Regions from separate parts of the Homo sapiens genome. Here regions 1 and 2 are each linked to region 3. The links are contacts of gene promoters, found by promoter capture Hi-C in human tissues and cell types (Jung and others, 2019). All regions are on one chromosome and are shown on one strand. Each heading gives the region's core, a stretch centred on a gene start or on the middle of the fragment in contact. The rest is flanking DNA. Distances are from core to core; before and after follow the strand shown.

Region 1 (2,700 bases), core at 173-2,672, 250 kb before region 3:
AATAAATAAATAAATAAATAAATAAATAAATAAATAAATAAGAGTATAATTGGGTTGTTTGTAAAAGAAAGTATAAACACTTGAGGTGATGGATACCCAATCCCAATGTGAATATTATGCCTTGCATGTCTATATCGAAATATCTCATGTATTTCATAAATATATACACCTACTATATACCCACAAAAATTAAAAATTAAAAAAATTTCTCATCTCCAAGTTACTCCCCAACTCATTGCAATCATACCGATATTCCCATAAATAATAACTATAAATTCTGGACAAGGTACCACAATAAACAACCTGAATGCACTGGAGGATAAAAAAATACAGATTCTGGAGGGAGTCAACACTTAAGGGAACTGCACTACCCAACGCTTGTGAAAATCCCAACATTAGTTGACACGTGGAAGCAGGAAACTGTATTGAGTGAGTTTCTATTTTCACAGCTTCTAGTATAAGGGCAGAGCACCTAGGCTATCTAAAGCTCTAATAGGGAAGTCACTGTCTTTCTGTCCTAAAGAACCTGAGGACAACCGCAGCAGCTGGAAAGTAATGGTGAAATCTCAGAAAGGAGAGTGCAGAGAGGGGAAGCCTTAAATTCTGCGAATAAACTCTGCCCAAATCCCTGGATGACCCCTGAATTACATACACAGGAGAGAAGTTCTAAGTAACCTAGTTAAAAATCTAAACTGAGTTTGAGGAGATGAATATCTCAATTATACTGATTTAATTATTACACATTGTATACAGGTATAAAGATATTACATGTACTCCCAAAATATGTGTAACTATTATATGTTCTTTTTTTTTAAAGAACACAGAAATTTTAGTCAAGTAAAATAAAGAAATTTTTTTTTTTTTTTTTTGAGACAGAGTCTCGCCCTGTCTCCCAGGCTGGAGTGCAGTGGCCCGATCTTGGCTCACTACAACCTCTGCCTCCTGGGTTCAAGCGATTCTCCTGCCTCAGCCTCCCAAGTAGCTGGGACTACAGGCATCTGCCACCTTGCCCGGCTAATTTTTGTATTTTTAGTACAGACGGGGTTTCACCATATTGGCCAGGCTGGTCTTGAACTCCTGACCTTGTGATTTGCCTGCCTCGGCCTCCAAAAGTGCTGGGATTACTGGCGTGAGCCACTGCACCCGGCCAATAAATTGTATCTTGATCTTGGAAAGAAACAAAAAGAGCCCAAATTGAGACTTGAGAATCAAAGATTGCCTTTGCATCCCGCCAGTTAACTGCCTGCAACAAACAAACAAACAAAAATCAATGGTTTTCAGAGGGAGCTAAAAGAAGCCAGCATCTATACAACATAATATTCACAATGTCTAGAATTCAATCCCAAATTACTTGAAAAGCAAAGAAACAGATAAATGTGATCCCTTCTCAAGAGAACATACAATCAAAAGCCCAATCCAAGATGACCCATATGTTGTAATTATTAGACAAGGATTTTAAAACACCTGTTGTAACCATGCATAATCATGTAAAGAAAAATATATATCTGTAATAAATAAACAAATGGAAAATCTCAGCAGATAAATAAAAACTATACAAATAAACCATGCGGAAGTTCTAAAATTGATTAAAATATCTAAAATTAAAAATTAACAGCAGTTAGAAGATGACAGAGGAGTCAGTGAATTTGAAACTAGATCAACAGAAATTATCTAATCTGAAGAAAAAAAATAAAATAGAAGAGATCCTCAACATCAAAATGTCTAAGACACTTTTAATGAGTCCCAGAGAAAGAGACAAAGAATGGGGCAGAAAAAAATCTTGCAGAACAATGGCTGAAATTTTCCCCAATTTGGTGAAAGACATTAATTTACAGGCACAAGAAATTCAGCAAACCCCAGTCAGGATAAAGATGAAGAAATCTATGTGTAGACAAATCATTATGAAACTGCTGAAAACCAAAGATAAAAAGAAAACCTGATGCCTGTCAGAGAAAAATGACAGATTACATACAGGGGAATGACAACTCAAATGACCATGTACTTCTCACCAGATACTATGGAGGCCAAATAACATTTGTAATGTACTGAAAGAAAAAATAAACTGTCAACCCAGAATTCTACTTCCAATGAAAATAGCCTTCAAGAATTGGGGCAAAATAAAGGAATTTTCAGATAAAAGAAATCTAAAAGAATTCATTGCCAGCTGGGTGCAGTGGCTCACTCCTGTAATCCCAGCACTTTGGGAGGCTGAGATGGGCAGATCACCTGAGATCAGGAGTTTGAGACCAGCCTGGTCAACCTGGTGAAACCCTGTCTCTACTAAAAATACAAATATTAGCCAGGCCCGGTGGTGGATGCCTGTAATCTCAGCTACTCAGGAGGCGAGGCAGGAGAATCACTTGAACCCAGGAGGTGCCGGTTGTAGTGATCCAAGATCATGCCATTGTACTCCAGCCTCTGTGGCAGAGTAAGACTCCATCTCAAAAACAAACAAACAAATAAACAAAACAAAACAAAAAACACCACCACCAACAAAAAGAATTCATTGCCAAAAGACCTACACTACAAAATAAAAAGTGCTTTAGGCTGAAGGGAAATTAAAATGTATGGAAAGACCTTCAGTAAAAACTCTGGACACTAAAGCTCAGGTGAGCTACCTGGCAGGTGATCATACATCAATGTGCTAGGAAGGTGATGCATCCCCAAGCATAAATTAAAATGGAATTCAAAAAAATATTC
Region 2 (2,700 bases), core at 83-2,582, 230 kb before region 3:
AATCATGTATACTAGGTGGTTTTGTGGTTTTCAGTCTTTAACTTTTTATTAATATGACCCAAAGCCAGAAAAACATGAAATACTTCTGATCCCATTTCCTATAAGCTACCATCTTGTTTCTTTGTTCCCCTCCGTAGAAAAACATTTGAGCTAGTTGTCTATAAGTAACTGCCTCCATCTTTTCTTCTCTCATTCTTATTCCCACTCCAGTCTGGCTCTCCATTTTAACCAAATCTGCTCTTGTCAAAATCAATGACCTCTGCATTGCTAAATCCAATGCTCAGTTCTCAGTTCTCAATTTATGGGAAGCATTTACTGCTCATCACTCCCTCTTCCTCAGTGGACTTTCTCGGCTTCCAGGGTACCACACTTTCCTGGTTTTCAAGGACATTGGTGGTCTCTCATTCTCTACCTCCCCAGCCTCTTAATTTTGGGGGGCCCCAGGGCTTAGTCTCTGGTCTCTTCTCTACCTATATTCACTGCCTTCATTATTTCATCCTACCTCCTGATTTTTAAAAATGCCATATGTAAGGCCGGGTATGGTGGCTCATGCCTGTAATCCCAGCACTTTGGGAGGCCGAGGTGGGAGGATCACAAGGTCAGGAGATCGAGACCAACCTGGCTAACACAGTGAACTCTCGTCTCTACTAAAAATACAAAAACTTAGCCGGGTGTGGTGGTGGGTGACTATAGTCCCAGCTACTCGGGAGGCTGAGGCAGGAGAATGGCGTGAACCCAGGAGGCGGAGCTTGCAGTGAGCCGAGATCACGCCACTACACTGCAGCCTGGGCGACAGAGCGAGACTCCATCTCAAAAAATAGATAAATAAATAAAAATTTAAAAATTTTTTAAAAAGCCATATGTAGTCAGACACTTCCAAATTTATATCTCAGTCTGGGTTTTTCTCCCCAAACTCTAGATTTGTATATTACTATTTACTGCATCTTCACTTGAATGCTTGATAGACATCTTAAATGTAACACATCTGAAATGGAATCCTCTCTGCCACAGCTTGGCCCATCTCAGTTGATGGCAACTCTATCTTTCCAGTTGTTCAGGCCAAAATCTCAGGTTCACTCTCGACTTCTCTTTCCCTCCGCATTGCTACCCTGGTATGAACCATCATCTTCTCTAGCCCAGATGCTGCAGCAGTCTCCTAAACGGTCTTCCTACTTCTCACCTTGCCCCCTACAGTCTATTCTCATCACAGAGGTCAACGTGATCCCTTAAAAATACAAGTCAGATTGTTTGGCTCCTCTGTTCAGATCTCTGTACTGATTCTTGCCCCATTTTATGCAAACTCAAAACTACAGTGGCTTTAGAGATCTATGTCATCTTTGCCTCCCTTCTTATCTCATCACCTCTTTGATCTCATGTACTACTCCTGTTCAGCTCACTGGCCTCCTGATTGTTTCTTGAGCATACCATGCCTTAGGGCCTTTTCACTGGCTACTGCCTCTGGCTGGAAGCTACCTCCTCACCTTCCCCACCCTACTCCAGGAGCTAACTCTCTCACTTCTCTCAAGTCTTTGCCCAGATGGCACCTTCTCAAGGAGATGTACCACAACAACCTATTTAAAATTGCAACTCCCTCTCCATCACATATTTACCAACCCCTTACCTTCTTCTATTATTTTTTCCATAGCATTTGCCAACTTCTAACATATTATCTAATTTACTTACTTATTATGGCCCTTGTTAATTGTCTCCCACGACCTCAGAAAAACTATAAGCCCCACTGGTCCCCTTCATGCTAACTACTCCCCAGACACAAATACTCTACTTTTGCTTTTAGCTGTTTCTTCTGGTAATCACCTTCATATGTCTAAAGCACCTTCTTATATTTTTTCCAGTTTTAGATATTACTTATTGACTCATAAGGATTTAGGAATATAGATTTCACTTTTTTATACCACCCATCCCACACACACACCTCCAAAGTTCTTCATTTCATCCTTCCAATGTATTGATTTCACTCATTCTGGTTAAATAAATATTCAGTATTACATTAGTATAACCATGTAAACATTATAAATGGTTTTCCACATGAATTGTGATTATGTGTTCTTTCTCCTACAACTTTTTGTTTTACCTGGACTTAATAATTGCTTCGGTTTTTCATTTGCTTCACTTTCTAGGTACCTATCACTAAATCATCCCTAAAATTCTCTACCAGATCTGAAAATTCCCCTGAGTACAACTACACACATCAGATAGTCTGTCCATTTCATTTTGGGAGCATGTTATGCCCCAGGCTTGATGATTAGCTGTTGGTCTGGAATTTCTTCCACTCTCTCCACGGTTGGAGTTCTGATTCCCAAATCTCAGGTCTCATCTTTCTCTTTCTTAGGTTACTCCTTGTTTGATAGAACATATCCCCAAATAGTTTCTTGAGAAAGAAAGCATGAGAGGCAAATTTTTTAGGCCTTATATGTCTGAAAATGAAAGCTTGGGTGGCTATAGAATCTATTGACCATCTTAATCTGTTTATTAAAAATCTTATTACAATTCTGATTTGGCCACTACACACTGTATACATGTATTAGAAAATCATTCTGTATTCTATAAGTATGTATCATTATTACTTGTCCACTAAAAATAAAAGAAATAAAATTGATTACAAAAACTTTCAAATAAATATGACAGTAGAAAGTTAATACAATAAACATTCATGTATTTACTCCCCAGATACAACAGTTG
Region 3 (2,700 bases), core at 170-2,669:
CCCCAGAAAACTGGAAGAACTGGGGACCAGCAAATGGCCGACCTGCAGTCCTGAGCAGAGGATGTAGGCCAGAGTGGACCTAGAAGATAAGAAAGGGAATTGAATCCAGTAAGGGACAGACACTTTATTTTTTTATTTTTATTTATTTATTTATTTATTTTTGAGATAGAGTCTGATCTGGAGGCTGGAAGGCGGGGCTAAAACTCCCACTCACTTACCTCTACCAACAACTAGGCCACCAAGTCATTTCTGAGGACTGGCTCAAGAAAGCAGATTTAACTTACACTGGCCTAGCCCAGGCCACCAGATGCATCCACGGAGATCCAAATGCATATAATCACTTGAATCAAGATCTAGACAGGGACGCGTGCAGCAGGCTTCATCTGACTGATTCCTGACACGGGAGAGAAAGCCTAAGCTCCGAATCATCCTTCAATGTTTACAAAGGCCCTAAATAGCAGTGGGCTAATTGCTGTTCCTGGATTTCCAGGAGACCTGAGACCCATGAAGGAGCAGGAAAGAGCTTGGGGATAAAAAATTAATCTGGAACCTACTGGAGCGGAAGGGGCTGCACTCACCTGGAAAAGACAAAGTTCTTGGGAACTGGCCACGTAGGCCAGGTCCCTAAGCAATTCCATCCCGCACCCTAACACCCCGACTGGTGTTCCTGGGTCCCTAACATTGTCTGTACCCGCTTCGGAGGTTGGACAAAATGAGTTTTTCACTGCCCTGCCTCAGGCCTCTCTCAAAGGTCTGGCCCATGATATTTGGTGTACATTGGGACCCCAGCGCCCAGATATTTGAAACGGGGTGGGGAGCGGGTGTTGAGCTGCTACATTTCCAGGTTCTAGGTACCCTGGGGAACCCCTGGTCGTTGACGGAAGCACAGCGTTCAAGGGCGGCAGAGCTCAGGTACTGGAGGACACATGGGCCGCGCCGGGTCTAGCCGCGGGACATCCCCAGACCCCAGCACGGCCTCCCAGGCCGACCTTCCAGAAGCCGGCCCACTGCCTTCCCCGGGTCCCAGCCCAGAAAAGCGGAGACCTTCCCCTCCGTTTGGAAGATGGACTCATCCCCTACTTCCTCCTGGCTCCCCAGAAGACCTGGAGACCTCGGGAAGTGTTCTCATCTATGTTCGCTCCAACCCGGGGGCTCAGGCCCACCTCGATCCCGCCTTCCCGGGAGGTCCAGGAAGGTCCCGCCGCACCCACCCCGTTGGCCTCACCCTGGCTCGGGCCCCTTTATCATCCTGCAGCTACGCTCCGACCAGGAGGCACAGCCAGTCCCCACAGCCGGCTCTACCGCTCTGCTCGCAGGTTTGGGCTAGTCTGGGGCGGGGACTTGGGAGCGCCTAAAACTTGCGAGGAGGGCGGGGCCGCAGACCGGTCCTTTAAAGGTTGGAAGTGGCCCCGAGGCGCCGGCAGCCCTGGGCGGTCCCGGGAATCGCACAGGACCCGGCTCCCCTCGCCTAAGCTGCTGGGGGGCGCCATGGGCCGCTACCGCATCCGCGTGGCCACCGGGGCCTGGCTCTTCTCCGGGTCGTACAACCGCGTGCAGCTTTGGCTGGTCGGGACGCGCGGGGAGGCGGAGCTGGAGCTGCAGCTGCGGCCCGCGCGGGGCGAGGTCAGCGCGGGGAGCGAGGGGAGCTAGGGCAGCGGGGACCCCGGGCCCAGGCCCGGGCCGAGCTGGGCTCGCGGCGGGAGGGCGGGAGGCTGGGGGCGAGGTGACAGCGCGACCTCGCGGACTGGGACTTCCACGAAGCTGGGACGAGGTGGGCAAGATTAGGGACAGGGTCCGCAGCTGGGATCCCGGGCTGGGCTCAACCCCATCTCCCTTTCCCGCCCCTGGTCCCGGCAGCCCCCAGCTCCTTCTCCCAGTGACCCAGAGCCAATGTAAGTATGAGGCCAGAGGTCAGACGTGAAGCTCCTCCAAGAACCGGCGCGGGGAGAGCTCAGTTAATGGGACCCACGTGGGCGATGCTGCTCCAGCATCAGCTCCAGGCGCTGCGGGCCCTCGTCCTCCACCCGACTCCGGGCGTCTGAGACCCAAAGAGCAGGTTGTGCGGGGGCGGGAACGAGGCGATGCTGTCTTTGGAGGCCCTGAGAAACTGAGGTTGCACAGGAGCGCGGCTCTGTCCTCGAAACGGCCTCAGTCGGGTCCCTCCTACTAAGTCTGGCCTGGGTCCGGCCTGCACAGGAGGAGGAGTTTGATCATGACGTTGCAGAGGACTTGGGGCTCCTGCAGTTCGTGAGGCTGCGCAAGCACCACTGGCTGGTGGACGACGCGTGGTTCTGCGACCGCATCACGGTGCAGGGCCCTGGAGCCTGCGCGGAGGTGGCCTTCCCGTGCTACCGCTGGGTGCAGGGCGAGGACATCCTGAGCCTGCCCGAGGGCACCGGTGAGCAGGCGGCGTCGGGGAAGGAGGCACAAGGTCTCGGGAACTGCTGCGGGGCTAGGAGGGCAGAGTTAAGGACGGTCGGAGCAGACTTAGAGGATGTATGGGCCCAGGGCAGGTGAAATGTAGGGATCCCAGGGTGCTGGACAGAAAACGGGAAGGAGTTATGAATTCCCAAAGTTTTACACAGGCTAAGAGAGGCTGCGTGTGAGGCTGGAGGCAGGGAGTAAGTGATCTGGAGATCCCATCTTCCAAGAAGGCAAAGACAGAAAGTGGGAGTTGCAGCGATCCAGGAAAACAGAGAA

Evidence for each region. Contacts are between HindIII fragments. The study calls those that stand out against the background at their distance.
Region 1: a contact is called between a fragment that was not itself captured here and the fragment with the promoter of ALOX12 in region 3, in 1 of the 25 tissues and cell types used here (lymphoblastoid cells).
Region 2: a fragment that was not itself captured here is called in contact with the fragment with the promoter of ALOX12 in region 3 in 1 of the 25 tissues and cell types used here (H1 embryonic stem cells).

The regions. Positions count from the first base shown.
Region 1 is chr17:6,746,846-6,749,545 of GRCh38, forward strand. No RefSeq gene overlaps it. Among named protein-coding and RNA genes, the nearest start is that of XAF1, 7.8 kb to the right of the region's middle. The HindIII fragment of the contact is 5,886 bases long and covers 1-2,700 here.
Region 2 is chr17:6,764,601-6,767,300 of GRCh38, forward strand. All of the region lies in intron 5 of XAF1 (XIAP associated factor 1), which reads left to right. Among named protein-coding and RNA genes, the nearest start is that of XAF1, 9.9 kb to the left of the region's middle. The HindIII fragment of the contact is 6,608 bases long and covers 1-2,700 here.
Region 3 is chr17:6,994,630-6,997,329 of GRCh38, forward strand. ALOX12 (arachidonate 12-lipoxygenase, 12S type) reads left to right here and starts at 1,420. Exons shown (of 14, transcript NM_000697.3): 1 at 1,420-1,623; 2 at 2,197-2,398. The coding sequence starts at 1,489. All of the region lies in intron 2 of ALOX12-AS1 (ALOX12 antisense RNA 1), which reads right to left. The HindIII fragment of the contact is 20,112 bases long and covers 1-2,700 here.